Linked DNA regions of Homo sapiens: regions 1, 2 and 3 are each linked to region 4. The links are contacts of gene promoters, found by promoter capture Hi-C in blood cells and fetal thymus (Javierre and others, 2016). All regions are on one chromosome and are shown on one strand. Each heading gives the region's core, a stretch centred on a gene start or on the middle of the fragment in contact. The rest is flanking DNA. Distances are from core to core; before and after follow the strand shown. Region 1 overlaps ZNF831 (zinc finger protein 831). Region 2 overlaps LOC101927932 (a long non-coding RNA gene). Region 3 overlaps ZNF831 (zinc finger protein 831). Region 4 holds the start of CTSZ (cathepsin Z).

Region 1 (6,868 bases), core at 811-3,310, 200 kb before region 4:
GAGATCTGACGTGCTATTTCCCTCACTTTCCTCTCTTGACCCCACAGAGAAGAACAAAGCAAAGAGAAGAGCAGTGGAGGTGTGGATGGCAGAGCCTCTGTATCCTGCTAAGCAGGACCTGGGACTGCTGTCAAAGCTCTGGGGCTGTGGCCAACGTGACAAAGAGTCTCAGCCACATGTGGTGGGGGTCACATGCAGCAGAGGCCACGTGGACTCAGGGCCACATCTGTAGGTCTTTGTCTTTACCTCACTGCAGAGATTGTGCTCTCATTACTGAGAGTGCTATCTCATTGAATAAGTAAATTGTGTGATGACTAAAGTGAATAGACACATGGCTTAGACAGATAAACATCCGCTCCATAAGGAAAAACACTATCTGCTAATAGAATTGCATTCTCAAAGCCCAGGATTTTTTTCTTCTCCACTCTCCCCTTCAACGACTAATGTATATTTTAGGGTTTTATAGAGTGCCCTTCTCCCATACAACCTGCAATCTTCTCCTCGCTCATTTCCATTCACTTGGGGCTTCACAATTCATTGTTCCATTTGTTGGAAGCTTCCTAGGAACAAGTCTCTGAATGTTTCATGCTTCATACAGCACAGTACACAGTTATAAATTAATCAATAAAATCTAATTCCATGATCCCGCGCTTGCTTTGGGCAAGGCAGGGAGGTATTTTGTGAGTGCTCCGGATCTCTATGCCTCTAGTTAATGTCAGGGCAATTAGGCTTCTGAGTATGAATTTTCTGCGTTTTTCCATTTCCACTCTGGAAGTGGATCCTGCATTTTCTAATCTCTCTTCTTTAACTCATGTAGTTTTGTTAATGAAAACAACCATTTTCATTACAGTGTGGTATTTGCAGTTGGCAAAAAACATAGAGATGAATGAAAGCAGAATGAAAGGCCCTGAAAAAAACTTCAAGTATAAACGGGAAGCTAAAATTTAACATGTAAGTGGGCAAAAGTGGATTAATGCAGGGGTCTGCTTGATTTTTATGCAAAGGTCCAGCTAATAAATATTTTAGACTTTGTATGCCACAGACAATCTGTGCCACGTATTCTTCTTCTGTTTTTATATGGATAAGCTTTTAAAAATATAAAAACCAAGCCAGGCATGGTGGTGCATGCCTGTACTCCCAGCTACTCCAGAAGCTGAGGCAGGAAGACCACTGAGGCCAGGAGTGTGAGGCTGTGGTGTGCTATGATCACACCTGTGAATAGCCACTGCCCTGCAGCCTGGGCAACATAGTGAGACCCTGTCGATCAAATATATATGTATATAAATAATGCGTTGCTCATGGTTAAAATAAGTTAAAAACCATATTTAACCCGTGGTCCATAGTTGTCTTTATAAACAAAAATAAAAATAAATCCTTCTATATATATGAATTCATACAAGAAGAAAACATAAGATAACATATCTGCATATTTTTGAAAGTAGGAAATTGAGAGTAAAGAAAGATTTCTTAGATATACCAAAAAGTCATGAAAAGACAGCCCCATTTGACTACATCAAAATTTACAAATTCTTAATGAAAAAACCATCATTATCAAGGTTAAAAAATAAGAACTCCATTTCCAACAGCACAGTGGACTCAATACTCTGACTGATTACCACCAAATTTATCCTTATACTGAAAACAATTAAAAATGCAGCGTAAAATGTAAACATTTTTTAAACTTATATTTAAATTTACGTATGTTCTGATTAAAAGATAAGAAATAGTTCAAAGGCAAAAACCAAGTGAGAGCTGCGCCCTGGAAAAGTGAGATTGCTTTCACTTTGAGGAATCTGCCAAACCAGATGAGGATGACCTTCCTATTTTCATGCTCTGGTGCAGCTGAGGGTACAGGACTCAAAGCCCAGAATGTTCTTCAGTGAGAGGCACATGGAAGACCCAACCTCCTTTCCTGCATAAAGCTGAGACCTCTGAAAGGCATACTCTCAGTATGTGGGTGAATTAGAAATAAATACTCCCTACCCCACCACCTGCCCGGGGAACATAACAACAAACAAACGAGCACCCCCAGGCACCCAGTGGAAGCAAAACAAATATTTATTGGAGGAATCCACCTTCAACCCACATCTCAAAGTTCCAAAAATATCAACTCACAGTCAAAAATTTTAACACAAACAAGGAAATAAGTTAACATATGTGAGAGCAAATATATAAAACAGAGTCAGATGTGCCAAGACTTCATAGGTTGTCATTGTCAGATGCAAAACATTAGATGTGTTTTTTTTTTTAAAAAAAAAAAAAAAGGTTGAAAATAAGAGTCAAGTGCAAGAGACTATAAAATGATCAAGCAAATTAAAAAAATAATTAAATAAAACTTTTTGGAAATAAAATATAATTCACATCAACAATTGAACTTAAACTTTAGCAGACCAATAAAAGTAGGGGAGATCAACTAGGAGGCACTGCAATAGGCCAGGGACTTCTGACCAAGACTTTGCAAAAGTAACCAGATTTACCATCCCAAGTAAAAAACTGAATAAAGATACAAAACAATAGTGTTCAGGGCATTGGACATTGAGCAATAAAGGCAGTGATCCATGAAAGAAGAGAAACAGATGAGGTAAGCCTGATGACACCTCAACTTATTGATGGAGAAATTTTCCAGGTCTGGAACCATTTGTTGAAAAGACTATACTTTTTCCGCTGAATTTCCTTTGAGCCTGTATGAAAAATCAATTGACCACAGCATGGTCTATTTCTGTATTCTCTATTTTGCTCCATTGATCTTTGTATCCATTTTGATGCAAAAACCACACTCTTTGGAATACTTTAGCTTTATAATAAGTCTCAGAGTCAAGCGGCGTAATCAAGTCAGTGTGGTATTTGCATTGAAATAGACAAATAGATCAACAAATGATGCTGGAACAACTAGATAAGATATCCACACACAAAAATAAGAACTTCGATCCATACATCACACCATATGTAAACACTAAGTGAAAATGAATTATAGACCTAAATATAAAACTTAAAAGTATAAAACTTTAGAGAAAAATTTAGAAGAAAAGCTTTGAAGCTCTGTTTAGACACACTTTTTTAAACTATGACACTAAAAACATAACAAAAAAAGGTAAATTAAATATCATCAAAGTGAAAGACAGTTGCTTTTTAAAAGATGCTACTAAAAGAATAGAAAGATAAGCCATAGATTGAAAGAAAATAGTTACAAATCACATCTCCGATAAGGAACTTATAATCAGAGTATATTAAAAAAATTCTCAAAACTCAATAAGAAAACAACCCATTTTTGATGCGCAAAAGATTTGAAGAGACACTTCGCCAGAGAAGATATACAAATGCTAAATAAGCACACAAAAAAAGATGCTGAATATCATCACTTGTTAGGGAAATGCAAATTCAAGCTATAAAGAGATACCACTACATAACTATTCAAATGACTAAAACTAAAAAAAATTACCATACCAAGTGTTGGCAATAATGTAGAGAAATGGAACTCTCATACTCTGATAGTGGAGATGTAAAATAATACAACCACTTTGGAAAACAATTTGGCAGCTTCTTTAAAAGTTAATAATACATCTACCATATGATCCAGGCTTTTCACCTCTAGGTATTTTCCCAAGATAATTTAAAGCATATGTCCATACAAAGGTTTGCATATGAATATTTATAGTCATTTTATTTGTAATAGCCCCAAACTGAAACAAACCAAATGTCTATCAACAAGTGAACATGTATACAAATTGTGACATACTCACTCAATGGCATACTAGTTAGCAATAAGAAGGAATGTGTTCTTGATAAACACAACATGGATGAACCTCAAAATAGTAATACTGAGTGAATAAAGCCAGGCAAAAAAAAGAGAGCATATATTGTATGATTCTGTTTCTATAAAATTCTAGAAAAGGCAAACTATCCTATGTGACAGAAAGCACATCAGCGGTTACCTGGGGATGGAAGGACTTCAGGACGGGCAGAAGGGAGGAATTACAAAAGGATAGGAGGAAACTTTTGGGCTTGACAGATATGTTCATGATCCTGGTTATATTGTTTCACAGGTATATATATATGTCAAAATTTATTTAATTGTATGTTTTAAATATGTGCAATTTATTAAAATTTAATTATACTTTAATAAAGCTTTACAAAAAATAGTAGATTTAAAAACTGGTAAAATTTTAAAGACAGATTTGAACAAAGTATCCAGATTATAGCACAGAGAAACAAGGTTATTAAAAGTATTAAAAGACATGAAAGATAGAAAAGGACTAATATATATTATTTCAGTATTTCAGAAAGGAAGGAGAGGGAACAGGACAGAGGCAATATTTGGAGAATGATGGCTAAGAATTTTTTACAGAGAGACACCAATCCACAAATCAAAATAGCCCTGTGGATTCCTAATGGAACAAATAAAAAGCAACATACATCTATATACATCAAAGTAAAACTATGGAACACCAAAGGATAAAAGAAGATCTTAAAGGTAGCCAGAGATAAAAGACTTTCAAAAGACAGATGAGTAGTCTAACAGCTGGCTTTCTTTACCACAAAATGGAAGCTGACAGATAGTGCAATGGTAGCTTTGATGTGCTGAGAAAATAACAGTCAACCTAGAATTGTGTACCCAGCAAACTATTTTTCAACAACAATGATGAAATAAATATATTTGCAGAGTAATAAAAACTAAGAGAATTTCCTTCTCTAATAAAGGAAATTCTAAAGAATATGATTTAGGTAGAAGAAAATAATCCCAGAAGGAAGATCTGACATGCAGAAACAAATGAAAAGACAAGAGATGGGCAATTATGTGGGTACATATAAATAAAGGGGCTTAAAAAGACAAGTAATAGACTTGGAAACATATTTGCAGTATATATAACAGGCAAATAATACATACAAATCTAGGATATATATAGAATCCTATAAATTATATTCATCACTTAAAAAATCTGATAACAACAAATATTAGGAAGCATATGAATGAAGGGCAAACTCTTACTCATGGATGAGACACTCTACAGCAATCAGAATGAATGAATTTGATCAGTATGTCCTGACACGATGAGATCTTCAAAAACACAATGTTGACCTTAAAAATCAAGCTGAAGAATGATAAATGATAAATAACTATGATACTTTTATGTGTACTTTAAAGACACCAAACAATATTATATATTATTGGTGATTTGCAAAGTATGAAAACACAGATTGATATGATTTGTGCCAAATACATAAAACAACATAATAATCTTTTAAATTTTTCTTTTCTATATATTGTTATATAACATTTAAGGTAATATTTTACTTAGAAGAGAACTGTATCATTCTCTGTGAGCTAAGGACTATAGAGCAATCTCTGCTACAGTATTTCATTTTCTGTAGAACATTAAGACAACTGAAATTAAAGTGGGAAAATGAATCAAGAAGTAGGCTTCCTTCTTGAGGAGAGAACACAAGGGTTACGTGATAGATAGATAGATAGATAGATAGATAGATAGATAGATAGATAGATAGATAGATAGATAGATATGTAAGTTGATGGGTGGGTGGGTGGGTGGGCAGATGGACAGATAAATATCTACAAACATATGTGTGTGGGTGGTTGGATAAACAGTGTGGTAGGCAGAGTAATACCTCCCCTCAAAGACGTCCATGCCTAGATATCCATGCCCTCATGGTGCTGATGCTTTTTCTGAGACAGGGGAGCCAGCCATGTGAGGAGCAAGAGGAGGAGTGTGCAGATGGAGGTAGAGGGACTAGCAGGTGCAAAGGCCTTGAAGCTGGAATTAACTCAAAAGACAGTCATGAGCCAACAAAAGGACCAATGATAAACAAATCACTATCAACCAATAAACGTTTGTGCATATAAAAAGCTCAACAGCTTCCTCCTCATTTGACCCAGCCAGGAGCTCTTGGTTAGAGCTCTAAGTCCTTGTTCAGACTCCTCCCTGTTCTGCAATGCCCCTGCCCCTTCCTGTGCCCATCCATGGGCTCTTGTCGTGATTTGTTGAGTGGAGAGGCCGTCTAGTTCCACAAGGCCAGCTAGTAAGGCCAAAATTTGCAAACTCAAATGCTATGGGGGCCAGGCAGAGAGCATAACTGAGAGAGGCTGGCCGAGGGTAAGACATTAGGGAGAGGTGAGCTAGAGAGCGCAGCAGGGAACACAGCTCTTACCCACAAGGGGTGGCCACTGCTCATCTCCATCTGGCTGTTGCCATGTAAGGAGGCAGGCCCAGTGTCTTCAGAGCTTCCCATATTTCAAGAAAAGTTAGAAATCCAGATTTTTATGAGAAATCTTTACATCTAATTATGTGGCTGCTAAGTGCCAAAAGTTTTAGAGCACTGGCCTAATAAGGGTCTTACATGCACTGTGTTTGGCCCAAGAGCTGCTAGTGGGTTTGCAAGGTGTCCTGGAGTGATATCTCCAAGCCTCCTGGGCTCCAGTCTGGGACCCTCACCCTGGATTAAGAAAGTTTCCTCGGCCACCTCCAGGTGTGGGCACCAGGCACACAGCAGGTACATGGTAAATATTTTCGAATTAGTCAAGCTGAAGTCTTGGGAAAGTGGGAGCTGTTAATGAGGCAACCCATCCTCTTCCCTCTCCCCACATCTTTCCAATGATGCCTGGAGGCTTCAGGCTCATCAACTATCAGTCACATGTAACTGAGCACTTCCTCCTTATTGGTGAGATACTGAGGAGGACCACAACCACTAGCCGATGTCCCTTGTTTCCCAGAGCCCCGCATGCAGCTCCTCCGTCTGGATGGCATGCATTCCCCTTTCCTCCAAGAGCAGCACTCGAATTTTCCTTTGGAAGACTGTCCTTCCCACACCACCAAGTTTGGGCCAGGGCTGATGATGAGGCTTAGAGGCCCCATTA
Region 2 (6,836 bases), core at 1,994-4,493, 140 kb after region 4:
GCAATTTTTAAGAAGCCACAACTTAATAATTCTATAAATCTCAATCATATTCACTATGGAGCAAAGTTCACCTGAGAGTTCTTTCAGTTCAGTCATCCAGACAACCTTCCCTTGTCTTATTTTTAACATAAAAAATAGCTAGCAATCTGTATTACACAGATATTTTCAAAAAAACATAAAGGTCACTATCATATGCTGTGATAGTTACAGAGACCTATCCATAAGACATATTATTTCAAGGGTAATAAATAGATAATTTAAAAGTATTTGTGAAAGGAAAGTTGGAAATTAAATTCTGGAAATTAAAATGTGTTTTTCATTCCACAATGGCTGGAAATTAATTATAGTATTTGAATATAGACTATCTCTATCTGCATTAGGGAACAAAACAAAAGAGACCCAAAGCTCAGGATCTAAGATGGAGGACTGGAACTAAGATAGAGGGCAGGCCAGGAACTAAGATGGAAGGCAGGCCAGCAGCAAAGATAGAGGGCAGGCCAGGAGCAAAGATAGAAGGCAGGCCAGGAGCTAAGATGGAGGGCAGGCCAGGAGCTAAGATAGAAGGCAGGCCAGAAGCTAAGATGGAGGGCAGGCCAGGAGCTAAGATGTAAGGCTAGAGCTAAGACGGGGGCCAGCCCAAGAGCTAAGATGGAGGGTTGGAGCTAAGATGGAGGATGAAAGCACTAAGGTGAAAGCACTCTGTAGTACATAAGGATCTGGCTGCAAACTACACTTTCCCATCTAACTCTCAAAACACTAATCCTAGACATAGAAGATTTCTAAGGTTAGGTGGGAAATATTGGGCCCATCTTCCTAAGAGAATTTTAGTCTTGAAAGATCCTGGAAGGCATAGTTTGGCTCCAGAGAGTGCACAATGAAAGAAAGAAGTTGGCAAAAGGCAGTTCTCAGCACCACTCTTGGGCCAGGCCTCTGCAGCCCCTCCTGGAAGCAAGACTGCCTCCTCAGCATGGCCAGTAACCCTCTGGGCTGTGCCTCCTGGAGAAAGGCCTCATTCAGTCCCATGACTGACAAGTTATCAACAGGGAGGTCTACCCTATCAACAGGGAGGTCTATCCTGTGACTAGCAAAGGTTCAGTCACTGCTGTTTGTGCAGAAATTTTCAGCCTCAGAGTGGCATGAAAATCTGAATGGCTGTGCCTGTCAAATGTTGCTTGTTTTGACCCCAGCAGATCCTTCTAGGTTTTCTGCAGTTTAATTATCAGCACTCATGACACTTTTAGGTAACCTCTGATTTGGTGTGCTCAACTGGGCTGGAAGACTCTTAGCAGGTTGTTGAAGTCTTTTGGTTGACAATCTTTCCATCTTTCCTTATTTATTCCCTGTGTAATCGCTTAGCAGAGACTGCCCACTCTTGTTAACTTCCTGGGTTTGTTTTGATTCCATCAAGGGAGTAGCAGTGTCTCATACTTTTGTCTTCCCCACGGGGAAGGGCACATATTTGGCACTCAATACATGTATATCGAATGAATGAACAAATGAAAATGCCCGAATTGAGGCAAACTCACCGACCAGGCAAGGATTCGTCCTTCTAAGGGGCGTGGCAGACACGTGAGCAGCTACTGCAAGCTTAGAGATGCTACTAGACAGACAAAAAGGAGTAAGGCTATTTCGACCTTCAAGTTAACCAAAAAATTAGGAAATAACTTATCAGTGAGAAAAAATGGGTACATGTGCTAGTCCCTGTGTACCAAGGACTGGGCAGGATTCCATGCTTTTGCCAAGTTGGACATAACCTACAGATGAGTAAACCTCAGACCTGCCAATAGTCAAACATTTGAAAAATTAATTTGTGACAACTGTTTTCACTTGGAACCATGATGGATTTAACTGTTTTCTTAAATTAGGCATGTCATTTTATGCTAAATTTCCACTAAACATTTCCCAACAACATTTCTTTCTTCCTGAAGAACCACCGTGACCCCTAACTCCCTGACAATTCCAAAATGTCACAGAAGGCCCATTTTATAAACATATTTGTGAATGAGTTCCTTTTCATAGCTATTAGATCAGCAATTATTTTCCCCAACACTGGCCCCTAATCAGCCATTTTGCTAAGTCTCAAAGCAACACAAATTTAGCTCAAATCAATTAGCAACACATTTCTAACTCTTGGTGCTTGGGGAGAGTCTGAACTCCTCCTGATGGGATGAGGCTAACGCCTTGAGAATGAACTGAGAGGCAGGTCAGCCCAGGAAGCCACTTCTGCCTTTGTGGTTGTGCTTTACAAGAAGGCCAAAATGTGGGAGAATGGGGTCCAACCACAACAAATTAGGATGAAATTTTGATTTTATTTTTTTTCTCTTGAGCTGATGAATGAAGCCCAGGACATAGAAAGGCAGCTGACGGAATATTTTCCCCACCAATGCCAGGAAGCTGAAGGTCTGCTCTTGTGATTTGCATCTGGCTGTGATGTTCTCTCTCTGCCCCCCACCCTCACCCCAGCACAGAGCAATCAACCTTGTCCCTGTTCTCCTCTGGCTGAATTCCCCCCTTTTCTCTTCCCCTCACCTTTCCTTGCTGAACAGAATTGTCTTCCCTCTCTAATGAACATAACCCAAGAGAATAAAACTTGTTTTTCAAAGTGGGGAGGGGGAATGGGAGGAAGAAAGGAAGGAAGGGAGGAAGGAAGGAAAAAGAAAAAAAGAAAACAATGCCTACAGTGGGTCTGGCTGGAACCCAATTCTCAAGGACATCGATTTGTAAAATTCAAAGGTTTCCCCAACATCAAAGATCTATACTTAACTTATAGGATGCTCACTTTTAACCTTAGGGTTTGCTTTGTTTTGTTCTGGATAATTATCAAATTTAAAAATTTATGATTTTTTTTTTTAAAGAACTAGAAGGTTCTCTGTGTGCCAGACTTTCTAAAACAAAACAAAACCACTTAGTGGGATAAGGCATGTGAAAACACTTGTGCTCCATGAAGTGTGCTACATGCAGTGTGTTCCTAACTTTAAAATAAAACAAAAATTGGACCATCGTTTTAGAATCAGGAGGTAAACACTTGGGAAAGCAATAAGAGGTGAGAGGGCAGTGGTCAGAGCTCAGAGGGTGGTGGTGGCCCCCGTCTTGGCACACAAGAGAGGCCTCTGTCCCAGCTCTTCTGGTTGGCACTTGAACGAACAAGGGACCTCATGGGGCAGTGAGATGGGGAGGAGAGGATGCCCCAGCCTGGATTGTGAACCTGCCTCTCCTCCCCGTACTCCTGTCCGGTCTAGCCAGCCTGGCCCCTCAGCTGTGCCAGCCACACCCTCCTTGGCAGCGCTCCACCCCCTGCCTGGTAGAAGGATAATCACTTGCAACCTGATCCTCTCCTCTGTTCTGGACTAGAAGTTCCTAGAGGGCAAGGACCCCATTTGGTGCTTAGAGCTAAACTTGGCAAAGGCACTCTTTTCTTTTTTCTTTTCTTCTCTTTTTTCTTTTCCTTTCTTTTCTTTTCTCCCCCTCCCTCCTCCCTCCCTTCCTTCTTCCTTCCTTCTCTCTTTCCTTTCCCTCTTTTTTCCTCCTCTCTCTCCCTTTTAATTTTTTTGGTTTTTTTTTTGTTGTTTGTTTTTTTTTTTTTTTTCGACGGAGTATCATTCTTGTTGCCCAGGATGGAGTGCAATGGCACAATCTCGGCTCACTGCAAACCCTGCCTCCCGGGTTCAAGCGATTCTCCTGTCTCAGCCTCCCGAGTAGCTAGAATTACAGGCATGCGCCACCATGCCCAGCTAATTTTGTATTTTTAGTAGAGATGATGTTTCTCCATGTTAGTCAGGCTGGTCTTGAACTCCTGACCTCAGGTGATCTGCCCACCTCGGCCTCCCAAAGTGCTGGGATTACAGGCGTGAACCACTGCTCCCTTTCAAATTTTTAAATTTAATCTCTATTTACTTCTTTCCTTCCGTTTGCACCTTAATTTCTCTTTGTCTCTCTCTTTCAACAATAAACAACTGGCCAAAGGGAATTGGTTTTAATTTCTGAGTCGTTCACAAGGACCCCGGGATTTCAAAAGATCAGAGAAGGAAAAACAAAGGGAGGGAACCTCAATTCTTTCCCTGCTCTTCCCCGCTAGCGAAAGGACTGAACAAGTGAAAGAACTGTGGAAGGACGATGGCGAACATGGAAGAGCTCTAAGGAAACTGTCCTGTAGTGTGTGTTTGTGGAGCAGGGGGATTAATATGAAACTGCACACCATGATTCATGCCCTCTCAAAACTATGCATACACCTGAGTAAAGAACAGGGGGAGATAATGATCAGTAAAATCACAGCAGGGTGAGGGTAGGCTGGGGGGATTTCCTGTAATATTATGATGTCATTTTAACAATAAATACAACTAGAAGAAAAGGCGCCCGGCCAAGTGTGGGATGTGGGTTCCATGTCATGTGGGAAGCGAAAGTGGGCAGTTGGGCCCCAGAAGGGAGAGTTCTAAGAGGGTGTGGTTCCCTCTAAGGGAGGGATTTGTGCGTCTGGCGCAGGGAGAAGACTGACCAAGAAAGCCACCAAATAAACAGACCAAACCCCCAACCACCCCTCCCCTGAGAAAAGCACAGAATGGCTGTATTGGTGTTAAAAGTAAGGTCCCCGGGACCCAAGACAGGATGAGAGCCCCAACCAAAACACCCTGGAAACATGGGGCTTTTTTTCCATTTGGGCATCCTACATTTCATCTAGAGAATTCCAAGATCCCAATTTCTGAGAGCAGACCCAGCCATTCTGAGCTCTCTGCTGACCTCTGGTGGGGAGGAGCTCCCATGGCCCAGGAAAGGTTGGAAAGAGGCAGCCACCTGCCCTGGCCTCCTCTGTTCCCCACGGTCTACAGGGTCACCTGCCCTCAGCCACCACTCAGGGCTAGAAGTCAGGGACTGTGAGGAGGAGAAAGTGCAAGAAAAGCTTTAAAGAATCCTCAGAGGAATATGGGCATAAGAGAATCATGTTGTAGGAAAGTTATCAAGTAAAAGAAAATTTTTTAAATAGATGGGTGGGAGGGACGTTTACCTTAAATCAACCCTGTGTATTCAGTTTCTTTAACTTTACAATCTTAAGAGAGAGGGGAGAAAGAATGTGTATATGAATGGGGTATGGAGGGTAAATTTGATCAGAAAGAAATAAATTCCCATTGGAGGACTTTGTAGGTCCTTGTGTGGGAGGCCTGTGTGGCCCTTCTCAAATAGATGACCTCATCATTTTCCAGCTGCTGGGTGGGGTGGTGCAGGGGGCAGAAATGGAAGGGAATGGCAACGGTACCTGTTCTTGGAACCAAGGAATTTGACCCAGACACCATCGGACCCAGCTTCCCCTCCCGTGGAAACGAGGCCTAAAGAAGCCAGAAGTGGCCTGCCCCAAGGCAGTGCTGAGCCTGAGATGGACAGTAGGGGTCCCATCCTTAGAGAGGACACCTTCGCTAGTGAGAATGCCCCAGTGTGCCGTGAAGCACTGAGAAGTGGAGAGGGGTTGAGGAGGGGAAGAACTTAAAACTAGCCCTGAGGTCTCAGAGATCCTGAAAAACACAATGATACTTGCATGAATGGAAAAGCAATGATGTATCCCTAGCAAGTCCCTTCTCTGTAAACAATCATTGACCATGCACCTCAAATTCTACTTCATCTCTCCATATTGTCTTAAATGCTAACTTCTCCAGGTAGGCCCCTTAGATTTCCCTGGTGGAAACTGGAGCTCTGCTCACCTATGAACCTCTTTTCTAGCCCTTGATTGAGGTGTGAAAGAGTTTACCACCAAACTCTGCTCCCACAAAGATTCTCCCGGTGATTGGGACCCAGAAACTATTAATTATTTACCAAAGGACAACAGAGGGCCCTACCATTTGATTTCCTATACAATCTGCCATTTTGGAACAGACATTTAAAAAAATTTGTGTTGGATAGGGGGTTGGCATACCTCATCTATTGAAACTTTATAAGATAATTAAATAAGTTTTAAAGTGAGAAAGACATCCCTCCTGTTTTTTCAATTGAGAAAAACTAGAACCAGGGATTTGTCCAAGATCTCAGGACCAGTTCCCAGGAGAACCGGGGCACCAGGGCGGTGAATCTGGAGGTTACCTGATCGTGTGCTTTCCTGCCTTGGCTAAGATCTTCAGATCCACTCGTTAAAAGTTGCCGGGATTTGTCCTTAGATGTCAATTGCTCAACTGAAACCTTTTAAAAACATTCCTCAGCCTTAGGGGCAGGGGCCGTGTCCTTGGGAAGGAGGATTTAGGGAGGGGGATGCGGGTTCTGCCTTAGGCGCCGGCGCAAGGGTGAATTTTTGAAAGCCAGGCTGTCAATCGTAAAAGCCGAGCGCCATCTGCCAGCCGGTTCTGAGTAGCCTTGCTTTCTTTCATTGTTTCCACTTCCCAGCCCTGAATAATTTGTGTTCTCATTTATTTCCCTCCAAAAAAAAGGTAGTTCCTGCTCAGAAAGTCCCCCCAAAATAAGAACCCCATTTAAAAATAAATCTTAGAAGAGAGTGAGAGAGCGAGAAAACAAAGGAAAAGTGAGAAAGAAATTCGAGAACTCCTTAGGAGGCTGCTTTCCGTTCTCCCCTTTCTGGATTGTGAAACTTCTGAGAAAATGAGAGATGAGCCCCCTTTCTTCAACTAAGGCAGCCCTAATGGTCTTGCTTCTTCTTTCTGACCTCTCACCTTCTTGTGGCGAGCAGATGCCCCACTTTGAGCCTGCCTTAACATCTGAAATCAGACCCTAACTCTGGGGAATCAAGATTGCAGGGCCAGAAAAAAAAAAAAAGCTGGCTGCGGTGGTTCACGCCTGTAATCCCAGCACTTTGGGAGGCCAAGGTGGGCGGATCATCTGAAGTCAGGAGTTGGAGACCAGCC
Region 3 (6,818 bases), core at 425-2,924, 210 kb before region 4:
GGCATGATCAAGAGGCTGGAGAGGGAGTTGAGAGGAGAATCACCTTCCCATTATGAGTCAGTGTCACTGAAGGTTTCTCTCTGTAGCCCCTAAAGTTACTTCTCCCCTAGGTTCCACTCACACCTTAGTTAGAATTAATCCTACAGGCTCATCTGCCTCCAAACCAAAAGGGCCTGGCCCCTTGTGAAGACCAGGCAGCAGGTGGGTGTCGGGGAAACAGACCCCGCAAGGCGCACCTGGTGCCTCCGTGATTTTGTTGAGAGTGAGTCTTGCCTTTTGTGTCCCATTTGTAGCCTGTTGAGTTCCATCCCTGAGATCCTCATTTTTCTTCCTGCCTCATCCACTGATTCTATTTGGCTACTGGTTCCAGCACGTTGCATAGGAAAATTCCAGAACAAAACTCAGGATTCATTTGTGGCCCTCTGCTGAGAAGGGGGTCTTCCAACTCAAATATGAGAACGGTTTTCAGAAAGTCTTTCAAAAGCAGAACCGTCCCCATTTCAGGTGTGGGATTGAAGGTATGAGAGTTTCTCTCCCTCCCTCTCCTCTTTTCTCTCTCTCAACTTTTAACATAAACACATATTTATCTTTAAAATGCCCATATTTCAACCTTCTCCTTCAATGACTATATCGTCCTACCCACCCACCTGCCCACTGAACCCATCATTAGTGCACTACCTATTGTTGCCTTCCCACCTTCTGTCGGCACAGACATCAGAATTCTAATCATGGCACTCCGTTTCTACAGGAATCTATTAGTGATTGCTAAGGGAAACACTTAGCATTTTAGATAAATAAGTACATAGTAGTTAAGTGCTCCATTCCCAGCAGTTTAGAGTATATGGCAAAAATTCTTTATGATCGAGGGATGAAAGAAGGCATGATAAAGAGTGACGGCCTTCGGTTCTCCCACATGCCCTGCTGACATTCCTTTCTGCAGTGGGGGGCCGAATGGAGAAGCCTTTGGGGTGAGCGTCGGAAGCATGCCCCACCCCCTGCTATGCTCCTGTTTATGCTAGCACACTCTCCCCTCTCCGCTCCAGCAGGCCTTGTCAGGATCCCTCATTTGGAAGCTTAATCATATCAGCGAGCTCACCGCACTGCATTTGTAATGACTTGTTTACCAGTCTGTGCCGGCTCCCCTTGCCACACTGGGCTCTCCCTAAGGACAAGGGCCATGTCATGTTCTTGTTTGCCTCTCTTCCTGCTCCCACACATTGCCTGGCACAGAACAGGCCCCAGTAATTACCTGGGACCCTCAGGCCACGTGACTCTCATCTGTCTCACAAAGGTGTCTTGGTCCACCAACCGGTTCCTAACCTCCTTGAGGTGAGGGCTCAAGCCATCTTCTGTTCCTCTCCTCTCATGGGGCTTCAAAAGACACTCAGTGGCTCACAAATGCATACCTAATTGCATTAAGCCATGAGTAAGATGGTTTCCCCATGTCTGCATGGAGGAAGAGGGGACATCTGCTGTGATTACTTGCCTGACCCCCACTTCTTTAGGGGGAACCATCTCTCATTTACTCTTTTTATTTTGTATTTTTTATTTTGAGACAGAGTCTCACTCTGTCACCTAGGCTGGAGTGTAGTAGCGCGATCTTGGCTCACTGCAACCTCCACCTCCTGGGTTCAAGCAATTTTCTTACCTCAGCCTCCCAAGTAGCTGGGACTACAGGTGCATGCCACTACACCCGGCTAATTTTTATATTTTTAGTAGAGAGGGGGTTTCACCATGTTGCCCAGGCTGGTCTTGAACTCGTGACCACAGGTGATCTGCCCTCCTTGGCCTCCTCTTAATGGCTGTAGCAAAAAGATGGCCCCAACCCAACCCTCAGTACATGGACAGGTGCAGGACCCATACCTGGCCGCTCAACATCCCCAGTGACAGGGTCAAGGACAGCCACATGACCAAACCAGGCCAGTTAGATTGAGTTTAGGGACTCAGTTATATATATAAAAAAAAAAAACAGTCACGCTAACACAAGCATGGAACAGCTGGGCAGGACCAGAGCTGCCCAGAGATGGAGAGAGACGAACACACCCACCTGCAGAGCCTCTGAACCCAGCTGAGCTTGAAGCAATTCTCTCTGTTCTGTGAGATAATGAATTGGGTTCTGTTTGTTTGTCTAAGCCAATTTGAATCAAGCCTCTTTTCCTCACACCTCAAAGAGTCCCTCCTAATACAGGCATGCAGAGTTTAAAGTTCTGCCTCCAGTAGCAACATTTCAAAATAAGATAACCAGGGAATCTGTTTGGGAATAATAAAAGCTTGAAAAAAGAAACACTGCTCTCATATTGGGAGCCCCAGCTTTGTGAGCCTTCTCATTTTATCCCGGGAGTCTGGACTATGGCCCCAAATCCCACCCTAACCCAGGAAGGGCTGAGAAATTCATCTCTCTGGCTTCTGTTTATAATGAGGAATGATGACTCTGCTCAGCCTCTGCCTAAAGCCTCACATATTACTATTTGCTCTCTCAGGCTCCTGGGAGGCCAGGGCTTCTCTGAGCTTTCTGGGAGGTAGCTGAGTAACACTGGGGCTTGGCAGCCTGCAGATCAACTCATCTCTTTTGCAAATTGCTAACTGGGTCTAATGAATTGGCTGGGCACAGAGGAAGGCCTTGATGTCCTTTGCAGTGACAGAGTCCCCCCAGAGCAGGCTGATCCATCGTGCCTCTGCTGAGGAACACATCTATTAATATTTGGTGAGAATATCAAATTGTGCCCAGTGGACATAACATCTGGTCAAGAGAAACTTACTTCTCTGTGATTTAAAAAAATAAATAAATAAATAAACGAGTCTTATCGTCCCTCCATGTTCTTTTTTTCTACTAGAGAATGCCAGCCTTCCACGGACAGAATGGATAACAGACCCCTAGTGAGAATCAAGGAGGGCTGGAAAGGCCCTCCCATCCACAGGCATAGAAGGTAGCATCTTTTACTCATCCAAGGGGAAAAGAAGAAAAAGTTTTATAAACTGGAGGAAAAGAGAGGTATTTAATATGCTACTGGTAGGGGTATAAACTGGGAAGCAATTTGAAAATGGCTATTAAAAATGTGCAACACAACACTCAAAGACCCAGCAATTTCTCTTCTTGGTTATTCCCTAGAGCAAACCCTGCCTGGGCTAAGGAGATATAAACAGTGTGTCCAAGGAGCATGATGCAAGTGTGAAACACTGGTGATGACCAAACTCTTCGTTAATAGGAGAATGGCTTCATAAATAAGAGTATTCCCACCCAGAGGGACTCTGTCCCTGCTCAGGAAGTTGAGACAGAGCTACATGTTTTCACAGTGTGGAACCACAAAACATTTTTGAGTAAAAAGAGCAAGTTGTGCAATGAGATGTGCAGTGTGCTGCTGCTGTGTTACACACACACACACACACACACACACACACACAGAGATGAAGATCTGTCAGATGTACTCCAGACTCCAAACTGTCATTTTACCTGAGGATGGTATTGGGATGGGGTAGTGGTGAAACTGAACATCAGCCTTATCTATTGCATTTTTATGTGTTAAGTATTATTCATGATTACACGTGTAATTAAAAACTAATAATTAACTTTTTTGCCCCTCTAGGTGGAGCATCACTTTTGCCAAGTTTTTTTTTTTTAAGAACAAAAGTGCCCCACCTGTCAGTGGTCTTCTAATCAGTCACCTCATACCCACTCTATTTACCCCAATTCTTGCTCCACTCTGTGTCTAGAGTGATCTTTAGAAAACCTAAATGGGATTATCTGCATAATCCTGTTGTTCTCAGGAAAAAAATTTCAGGCCCCGACTGAGGCCTGAGAAGTCCTGCAGGTGATGCCCTGTCCTGTGAGCCTCCACTGTACCTGCGCCCGTCCCCCATGCACCTGGCACACTAGCCATCTGTCTATCACGCATTCCATCCTGTGAGCCCCCACTGCACATGTGCCTGTCCCCCACTCACCCTGGCACACTGGCCATCTCTCTATCATGTGTGTACCACTTCCTCCTGGCACAGGCAGCATGCCCACCATGGGCTCCCAATCAGTGTCCCAGAATCTTAGAAATGCAGGGTTTCCGGGAGCCAGAGGTTGCAGTGAGCCGAGATCACGCCACTGCACTCCAGCCTGGGCGACAGAGTGAAACTCCATCTCAGTCAATCAATCAATAAGAAATGCAGGGATTCAGGCTGCCTCCGAAACTCTTGGCAAGTGCCTCTCACCCTAGCCCAGTGAAGCAGAGAAGGGAAGGCTCTTCCAGGAGGGTCTTTGCAGAATGTTGCCCATGGCCTCTGCAGTCAATTCTGCTGAATTGGTTCAGTGGTTTAAATCCATACAGGTCAAAGCCTTACAAAAATTGAGAAAATTCTAGATGAGACAATGCAAGCCAATGAGGATCCTACTGACAGAAAAAAAGGGGGTATGGCTCTCCAAGAGAGGGGCCCAGGGAAGGGTGTGGGGGTTGGTGGTTATTTTAGGTGATTGATAAGCAAAAAGTTAAATAAAACTGAATTGCACAATGATGAAGCTGTTCTCTCTTCTATTCTCTTTTAATCTTCTGATTAAGGAGAGAAGAAAGTCTCGACTAGGTGCTAATGCATCTTGAATGCTTCCCTAACACTTCCAAATCTCTTTTTAGCAGAAGGGGTATTCCTAGGGCTCATGGACTTCAGCTCACAACAGATTCTGGCTAGAACTTATTTACCAAAAACATTGTAGGGTTTATATTTTTGCCATGTTCCCTTAATGGCACATAATATTAACTTTTCATTTTCAGTATCGATAAACAGCTTCTCTTGAAATAATTGGACTTAAGTTTTTTTGTAAGTGCACCTAGGAGAAAAAATAAGTAAAGAATCACATAGGTGACATGTAGATGCAACAAAAGTTCTGAAGGTGGCACCTAGATGATTTCAATTTAGGCCTCAGTGCTGATCCCCAGATCAATCATCTGGGTGCCTCTGGGCAAGTCACTGGACAACTCTCTAAGCCTCAGTTTCTCCATCTGCCAAAAGAGGATAAAAGTCACTCATCACAAGTGTGTCCAAGGGAATAAATGCATATGAGCTTCCTAAATCGAAAGTGCCTCCTGAGTTTAGTTATTGAGAGAGTTTTCTAAAATCTCCATTGGAAATATAGCCCTGAACCTTGCTGTGTTTACTGTTATAAACCATGCCAGCTGCAGGAAATTGCAAAACCATAAACTCAATGTAGTTCTTATCGTTCAATAAAACATCTCCCTCAATCAATAAGACTTCAGATGTGTCATCTGGGCACAGGGCCATGCTCAGCTCCTCTTCACTGTTCCAATTTTAGTCTGTGTACCAGGAGAAGCGGCACGACTTCCAATGTGCCCAGCAAAAGCCCAAATAATTAACCTCAACCACATCAATGTTCTCCATTCAGTTCCGCAAAATGTGTTTCTAAGGAAATATATAAGAGCACTCTTTATACCACGGAATGTTTTAATGTACCCAAGCATTCGAGTAAATAGAACAGGTCTCAGTTAATGGAACTTTTAGCACAGAGGTTTTCAATAATAATAATTTTTTACAAAGCTGATATGTCATCGGCTAGAAAGAGATGTGCAGATAAATATAAAAACAGGGAAAATCTATTTATGAGATTATTTTTTGCAGCCCAAGGGTCAATAACTGTCATATTAGGAGAATGATAATAAGGCTGTATGTTGATGGGCATTAGGATCACAGAGAACAGGATGTCCCAGTTGAAATACAAACAAAATCAATGACGTTGCCTTCATCCCCCTACCTCCCTACATTCTGAATAATAATCATTTCAGATCAGTGACCTCATCAGAAATTGTGTAACCACAACAGAGAATCTTCGGCAGCTTTTGCTTAGGTGGCATCACCCTTCATATGGATGTGTAATTTTCAATTGCTTTTTCTAATGGAAAACTGACACAAGAGCATGTGAGCACATGTGCAGACACACACACATACATGCGAAGCTTGTCTTCCTAAGTGAGACTCTAACTGGGAAAATAGTGGGAAGAGCATTTTCAAGACATGATTTGCTGTGAATTTCTCCTTGGGCTAGAAGGGACGGTCTTTGACTGAGTGGCACCAGCTGACTCAAGATGACATGGAGTAGCTGTCCAGTGGAAAACTGCCCCCCAGTTCCTATGCTAGAGTAAGAAAGGCATTCCAAGTGAGAAATGAAACGGCAGCACAGTCCCATCACACATGCATTTAACCTACACCCTGACTGTTGAAGCTCACCCTTCCCTGACCCAAGAAGACACAACTCCACTATCTTGCTTAATCCTCACCATAACAACTCAATCCATTAAGATGTCACAGCAGTTTTAGAGGCTTAATGCTAAAACCAAATGGCACACACCATGCAGTGAAGCAGGGACACGTGGGAATTTTTCTAACCTCTCTTCAGTGGGAGGATTTGCTGTTTATCTTCAAAGCTGCCTGCATGGATGGATGGCCTTTTTTCTTTCCTTCTTTCATCTCAGCAGTCCTCACGCATATTGTGCACGAGAATTTCTGTTCAGAGTTGTATAAACAAATCGTACCCTTATGATAGATTTGCAGGATTCTCAAAGATAATTTTGACAATAGGGATTGTGCCTTGGGGGCCAGCTTTGGAAACAAACCTCACCAGCCTTTACAACATGGCCCCACTGTAGTGTGGGAGAGAGAGGACGTCAGGTTAAAAGGCATGGAAAGGACATTCGCAGTTCGGTTACTACTTTTACCTCCCCAGAGCTTCCATCCATAAAACGGAGGTGACATAAGATGACCCCTAAGGTTGAAAATGGTGATTCCATAGAGTTGAATTTTGCGGTTACTCCACTGCCATCCCACTG
Region 4 (6,760 bases), core at 4,079-6,578:
GCTGCACAGGGTGTGTCCCAAAGGTGATACTGATGAGGCTGCCTTCATCAATGTCAGCCCAAGGAGCCACATCCACTCCCAAGCAAGTGTGCACCACCAGTCACTGTGCAACTGTCAGAGGCGTTTGAACCAGAGCGACTCCATCTTGAATACAGACTGGGTAAAATAAGGCTGAGACCTCCTGGGCTGCATTCCTTGGAGGTTAGACATTCTACATCACAGGATGAGATAGGAGGTCGGCACAAGGTACAGGTCACCAAGACCTTGCCAATAGGCCAGGCACGGTGGCTCAGGCCTGTAATACTAGCACTTTGGGAGGCTGAGGCGGGTGGATCGCCTGAGGTCAGGAGTTCAAGACCAGCCTGGCCAACATGGTGAAACCCCGTCTCTACTAAAAAAAGCCAAAAAAGTAGCCACGCATGGTGGCAGGCACCTGTAATCCCAGCTACTCGGGAGGCTAAGGCAGGAGAATCACTTGACCCCAAGAGGCAGAGGTTGCAGTGAGCCAAGATTGTGCCATTGCCCTCCAGCCTGGGTAACAAGAGCGAAACTCTGTCTCAAAAAACAAAAACAAACAAAAAACCTTGCTGATAAAAGGATGTGATAAAGAAGGCAGCCAAAACCCACCAAACCCAAGATGGCGATGAAAGTGACCTCTGGTTGTCCTCAGTGCTGATTATATGATAATTATAATGCATTAGCATGCTAAGAGACACTCCTACCAGCACCATGACAGTTTACAGATGCCACAGCAGCATCAGGAAGTTACCCTGTATGGTCTACAAAGCGGGGGAACCCTCAGTTCCTGGAATTGCCCACCCCTTTCCAAAAAACTCATGAATGATCCACTCCTTGTTCAGTGTATAATGAAGAAGTAACAGTAACTATAAATAGCTGAGCACCCCGTGCTGCCGCTCTGCCTGTGGAGGAGCTATTCTTTTATTCCTTTGCTTTCTTAATAAACTTGCTTTCACTTTATGGACTTTCCCCGAATTCCTTCTTGCGTGAGGTCCAAGAACCCTCTCTTGGGATCTGGGTTGGGATCCCCTTTCCCATAACACAACCAGGCCAGGATGTGATGCATGGTGGTGCTTGGGGACAGTGGCATGGTGGATTGCAAACCTGGCCCGCCCTATCTGAAGGCCTGCACTGCAGAGATATCTGGGTGTTAGCGAGTGCCTCTGACCCGTTGACCAAGTGGATCAAGAGGAACTCCTGTAGCTGGTGAGGGAACCGTCGTGCCCTGCAAAACCAGCCTAGCCTAGCGAGCATTGTCGGCATCCACCCAAACAAATGCCGGTATCCAGGATGTGGCTAAACTCAGGAATGTGGAATAATAGGAAATGTCTGCAGCTTGCCGGGGTGGAAGCCAGACAATATGGCACAAAGGAAGAAGAAAAAGGATTTCGAGGCCATTCCACAGTCGATGAAAACTCATCTGTGTTCTCCTCCTCCAGGTTGGGAAGGTGGGCCAGCCGTGGCCTGAGTGCTGATCTTTATCAGAATGAGGAGAAAAATCAGCCTTATTTTTAGAAATGAATAGGCTTTTGTGTCTGTGGCCTTGGATCATGTGTTTTCCAGGAGAATTCATGGGGTTAAAAAAAAAAAAAAAAAAAGGGACTGGATTGGAACCTGCCACCCAGGAGCCTCGTGCTGAGCACAGGTCACCTGACATCTCCAGAGGCTCAGTCTTTTCGCCAGTAGAATGGAGTAATAGCATCTGCCTCCCAACCCCCACCCCCACCTCACAGCATTGTGCAAAGGATCAAATGCGGCTGCACAGTCCTCTAGAATGTCATTGGCTCAGCCCTCTGCCCTCAAGCACCACTGGGAGCAGGAATGACTCCATTACCTCCAGGAAGGAAAACCCAGGATAGGTGCCAAGCTTTCCAGGCAAAGTGGTTTCAGGGGAGACGCCTTGCTCTAAATACCTACTCAATTCTGCCCCAAGCTGGAAGGCGGTGGCACACAGCTGCTTATAAAGAGCTGCTAGAAGCAATGCTTAGGCAAGTAGGGCCTCAGAGGTAGGAAGGTCCAAGTGCCCTGCCCCAAGCCTCTTCGGATCCCGGCCCAGATGAGAAGAAGAGTCAGTATCCACAAAACCACCTTGCAGGCACCTGCAGCCAAGTCAGGAGGAAACACCTTTCCGGTTTCCAAGAGTCCCCAAGCTGCTCTGCAGGTGAGTCTGCTTTGAAGAGAGAGACACAGCTCTGGGGCTAAACTCAACCCCCAGCAAGCAGTCCCCAGCAAGAAATGGCTGGGGTGGCCTGTCTATCAGGTTCCCAATGTGCTCCCTCCTCTTTTTCCAGTCCCAGACACCTCCTGGTTTTATCTGTGTGCCCTTCAGAGAACTCCTCCAGCTAAACATCCTTCACTAATAGCAGCACTGGAATTTGAGTTTGGGTGGGTTTGTGGCCATCCCCAACCCCGCCCCCACAAGGAACATGTTTAAGATCTTGCATCGAGTTAAGGGAAAAACAAAAACAACCAACAAAAACCCCAAAACCAAGAAAACCAAAAATCCTATTTAGGATCCTCTGCTGCACGATTTTAGTAACCCCCAAAATGACACAGCCCGCCAGCTTCTCGGAGCAGTCTGGCAGCCAGACATGCATCCACTCGACTAGGGCCAGGTTCAGAGATGAGGAGCCCTGTCTCTGCGTGGTTTGCTGTGTTGGACCCATGAGAAGAGGCTGGAGAGATAAGTCTCATCAGGCCCCCTTCCTTCCTTCTTGGCTTGAAAATGATGATTTCAGACCAGGCGCGGTGGCTCACACCTGTAATCCCAGCACTTTGGGAGGCCGAGGCGGCAGGATCACGGGGTCAGAAGCTCGAGACCAGTCTGGCCAACGTAGTGAAACCCTATCTCTACTAAAAATACAAAAACTTAGCCAGGTGTGATGGTGTGTGCCTGTAATCCCAGCTACTCAGGAGGCTGAGGCAGGAGAATTGCGTGAACCCAGGAGGTGGAGGTTGCAGTGAGCCGATATTGCTCCATTGCACTCCAGCCCAGGTGACAGAGCGAGACTCTGTCTCCAAAAAAAAAAAAAGAAAAGAAAAAGTAAATGATGATTTCAAATGGATAGGCTCCCTCCCTCTCTTCCTGCCCTATTCCATCAGATTCTGATCTTGAATTGCTTCTATGTTAGGGAAACCCAGGGGGCACAAGTTGTCAACTTTGGACGTCCTTTTTGTTACCAGCCTAAAAATATCCTTCCCTTTAACCAACTTTCAATAGGGTAAATCCGGAGAGTCTCCTCTTTGGAACTCCCCAGATAAATTAAGCTTTGTGCCAGCATTTGGGAGCAGGACTGTGAATGTTTATTCCCCTTCCTGACCATCTCACCCCTCCTCCTGACCCCTGTTTGTGAGTTTGATTTGCCAGAGGCTCTGGGCTGAAAGCGGGTGATGTACAGGACTTGTGATGGAGCAGGTGTGGTTGCTGTCATCAGACCCAGCTACATAATTTGCAGGGCCCAGGGCACAGTGAACCTGGAGAGCCCCTCGTTCAGCTCTGCATTACACTTCTGGACTTAGGGCCTCATGTGACTGCAGGGGTCGTGTGCCTGCCTTGCTGACCATGCCTGTCATACCTTCTACATGCGCTGGACCTGCTCGGAGAGTCTCGGGGCATCTTCAGAGCACCCCAGCTCTCCCCATGCTACAGGAAAGAAAAGCTTACACCTTGGGTGCCTTTTCACCCAGATTCAGGGACCAGGGCCCAGGACATCACAGCTCAGGCATCAGAGGCCAAGCACAAGGGGCCCTCCCCTCTCCAGGCTTGTTTCTCATGCTGTAGAATGTGCTGTTGGACTTCACAGTACCTGGATCATAACTATGGGTACCTGGAGGGAGGGGCACGATATCTCTTACCACACAATTTTGTGAGTTCTTAGCTTTTTCTTTAGAAGAAGCCAAAAACCGGCCGCTTTGGTAGATGCCACCTGATGACCTGGCAAGGGCAGCTGTGTCTGGGTTTCTTCCTCACAAGGACCCAGCTCCTATAGTCAGGGAGGCCAGAGGGTTGACATGGGAGGAAGAAAGGCCCCCTCTTGGCAATTCTCTTTCCACTCCTTTTATGCCCAGAGGTTGGGAGGCCTCGCTCCCACCCCCACCGCCAGCTCAAGCTTGGGGACTTCTCCCAGGATGGCCACCCCACCCCGCCTTCTGATGACTGATGGACACTAATGGTTTCCATGAGCGACTTGCCAAACAAATAAGAGACACATCAGTAGGTAGAGCCCCGGGGCCACACTTTGCCTCAGTGACCACTTTTTGGGGAACAAGGACTGAAACTTCTGGGCTGACGAAGCAGCTCTCCAGCCTTGCTCTCCACTCGGACAGTCATGCGGGGATTCCATGGCCACCTCAGCGCTTCCGGGAATGGTCATGGAAGCTTCTGGAAGTCAGGAGGCAGCCACTGTGACTTCCCCTTGCCCACGTGGCACGCTTGGAATGTGGTGAGTGCCACTGAGTATGGAGAGAGTCAGGCAAGCTCATCTGTGGGCCCTGTGCCAAGGGCCCCCAGCAGGGGCCTGTCAGGTCGCAGCCCAGAATGCCGGGCCCTGTTCTTACCAGAGAAGAAGGCCATGGTGTGGGCCCAAGGGCCATGACAAACAGAGGGGCCGCAGGGAGCGAGAAGCCCTCCCCCAGTTACAAAACCACGTCCTGGGGGGCCACTTCTGCTTTTGGTTCCTCATTTGACTAAGAAGAGTTTCGTTAGCAGAAAACCTTTTCAAGGCGTCTTTGGAAGTCACATTGGATAACTCCTGATGCCTGCGCCAAGTGGAATCTTCCTTTGGGGCATTTTCTAGAAGGATCCCTCCTTCCTTCTCTGCAAAAGGGAACCGTCCCCCCGAAAGGGCCTGGGCCTTTGGGAAAAGGGGTTTAGAAAGCCAGGCGCGGGGACCCTTCTTTGGGGGCGGTGGCCGCATCCCAGGATCCCTTCCTAGGGGAGGCCTGGGCCCAGATGTGAGGCTGGGGGCCTCTCCCCAGGGCTCAGGGCCCCAGGAATGCAGGGCCAAGGGGGCCCATGAGCCTGCGGCCCCCCACCCCGAAGCCAGGAACCCCGGCAAATGAGTCCAGCCGGACAGTCCCGCGCTCAGGGCGGCGGCCGGCGGCGGGGTCAGGCTGGGGTCTGCCCGGCGACCTCGCGCCTGGCCCGCGAGTTCAGGTGCCCCGGAGCCAGGGAGGGAGCGGGGCGCGGAGCCGGGCGGGGAGGGCAGGGGTCACCGGGCGGGGCAGGAGCAGCGATGGGACAGCCCCGCCCCGGGGGAGTGTCCCGGCCTGGCCGCCGCAGCCTTAAGGGCCGGGCGGGGCAGGGGCCCAAAGTGCGGGGTCGGCCGGGTGCTGGGCCGAGGCCGAGGCCGGGGCGGGATCCAGAGCGGGAGCCGGCGCGGGATCTGGGACTCGGAGCGGGATCCGGAGCGGGACCCAGGAGCCGGCGCGGGGCCATGGCGAGGCGCGGGCCAGGGTGGCGGCCGCTTCTGCTGCTCGTGCTGCTGGCGGGCGCGGCGCAGGGCGGCCTCTACTTCCGCCGGGGACAGACCTGCTACCGGCCTCTGCGGGGGGACGGGCTGGCTCCGCTGGGGCGCAGGTGGGCACCGGCGGGGAGGCAGCCCTGGGGGGACGGGAGGCCCATCGCCCGGGCCAGGCGCGCGCTCTGCCTCCTGGGGGCCCTGCGTCGCCAACAGGCCTTGGAAGGTCAGATCCAGCCGCTTCGTTTTGGGGGTCGCTCCTTCTCTTCCACATCCAGGGTGAGCCCTGATGTTTGTGGGGTTGGACAAGCCCCACCTGGCCAGAAAGCCAGGCCAGCCCCACCTCCTCGGCCTCTGGGGGTGGCCCTTACGGCGCGGCATGGCTGGGGGAGCAACCCGGTTCCCTCCTTTCGGGGGTGCCCTGCCTCCTTCACATTCTGAGAGCGCTGGAGCCTCCTAGTGTGAGGTGGGCCCACACCTGGCTCACCTCTGGTGATTGTGGCCCCACTCCCATGCCCTCAGGTGTTGGGAAAGGCGGGAGGGCCCTACCGAGGGCTTCCTGGGCCCACGGCCCCCGGGAGCCCCAGCACCGATCTGGGTGGGGATGATCTCTTCTCAGCACATACCCCCGGCCTCATGAGTACCTGTCCCCAGCGGATCTGCCCAAGAGCTGGGACTGGCGCAATGTGGATGGTGTCAACTATGCCAGCATCACCCGGAACCAGCACATCCCCCAATACTGCGGCTCCTGCTGGGCCCACGCCAGCACCAGCGCTATGGCGGGTGAGTGGCCGCCCTTTGACTGTGGGCCAGGAAAGCCCATCCCGGCTGCCTGTTTATAGGCCCAGGCAGCTCAGCCCGCGGTTCCAGGGGCCTGTGATTCAAGGCCAGGTCAGCCTGGGCTGGGGTGCTAAGGCCGAGGAGCGCGGGCCTTTGCCCTCTGCTGAGGTGACCCAAGCTGGGTCATTCTGGGGCTTTTGGGTGACAGGCAGGACTAGGACTGAATCCCAGTGACAAGTGGCTGCCAGGTGCCCTCTCTCCCCCAAAGCTTGTGACCTCAGCCATTGGGATAGAAACAGAAATGCAAAATCACTGAGTCCCCAGGCTGTATTTGAGGATACAGAAGTAAACTGCTTCTCAGCACAGATGAAAGCCTGTCCTGGGCTTGGAATATTGGGTGAGGCTAGTTGGCTACAGCCCATGGCCTAACCTGGTCACTACCTCCAGCCTGGTGGGTTTCTATCTTAGGCTTTTGGCAGGAGTAGGGTAGGGAGGCTCTTAGC

The links. The method cuts DNA at HindIII sites, captures the fragments that hold promoters and counts their contacts. A CHiCAGO score of 5 or more calls a contact.
Region 1: a fragment that was not itself captured here is called in contact with the fragment with the promoter of CTSZ in region 4 in 1 of 17 cell types (total B cells); the score reaches 5.4 in total B cells.
Region 2: a fragment that was not itself captured here is called in contact with the fragment with the promoter of CTSZ in region 4 in 4 of 17 cell types (total B cells, M0 macrophages, activated CD4 T cells and 1 more); the score reaches 7.0 in total B cells.
Region 3: a fragment that was not itself captured here is called in contact with the fragment with the promoter of CTSZ in region 4 in 1 of 17 cell types (non-activated CD4 T cells); the score reaches 5.5 in non-activated CD4 T cells.

The regions. Positions count from the first base shown.
Region 1 is chr20:59,197,721-59,204,588 of GRCh38, reverse strand. All of the region lies in intron 3 of ZNF831 (zinc finger protein 831), which reads right to left. Among named protein-coding and RNA genes, the nearest start is that of ZNF831, 37 kb to the right of the region's middle. The HindIII fragment of the contact is 1,943 bases long and covers 1,089-3,031 here.
Region 2 is chr20:58,868,364-58,875,199 of GRCh38, reverse strand. All of the region lies in intron 3 of LOC101927932 (a long non-coding RNA gene), which reads left to right. It also overlaps a transcript of GNAS not described here. Among named protein-coding and RNA genes, the nearest start is that of GNAS, 20 kb to the left of the region's middle. The HindIII fragment of the contact is 3,307 bases long and covers 1,590-4,896 here.
Region 3 is chr20:59,213,747-59,220,564 of GRCh38, reverse strand. All of the region lies in intron 4 of ZNF831 (zinc finger protein 831), which reads right to left. Among named protein-coding and RNA genes, the nearest start is that of ZNF831, 53 kb to the right of the region's middle. The HindIII fragment of the contact is 1,197 bases long and covers 1,076-2,272 here.
Region 4 is chr20:59,005,822-59,012,581 of GRCh38, reverse strand. It overlaps CTSZ (cathepsin Z), which reads left to right and starts at 5,328. Exons shown (of 6, transcript NM_001336.4): 1 at 5,328-5,596; 2 at 6,097-6,260. The coding sequence starts at 5,454. RefSeq lists enhancers at 4,075-4,154, 4,295-4,404, 4,425-4,584, 5,265-6,076 and a silencer at 5,045-5,644. The HindIII fragment of the contact is 2,129 bases long and covers 4,399-6,527 here.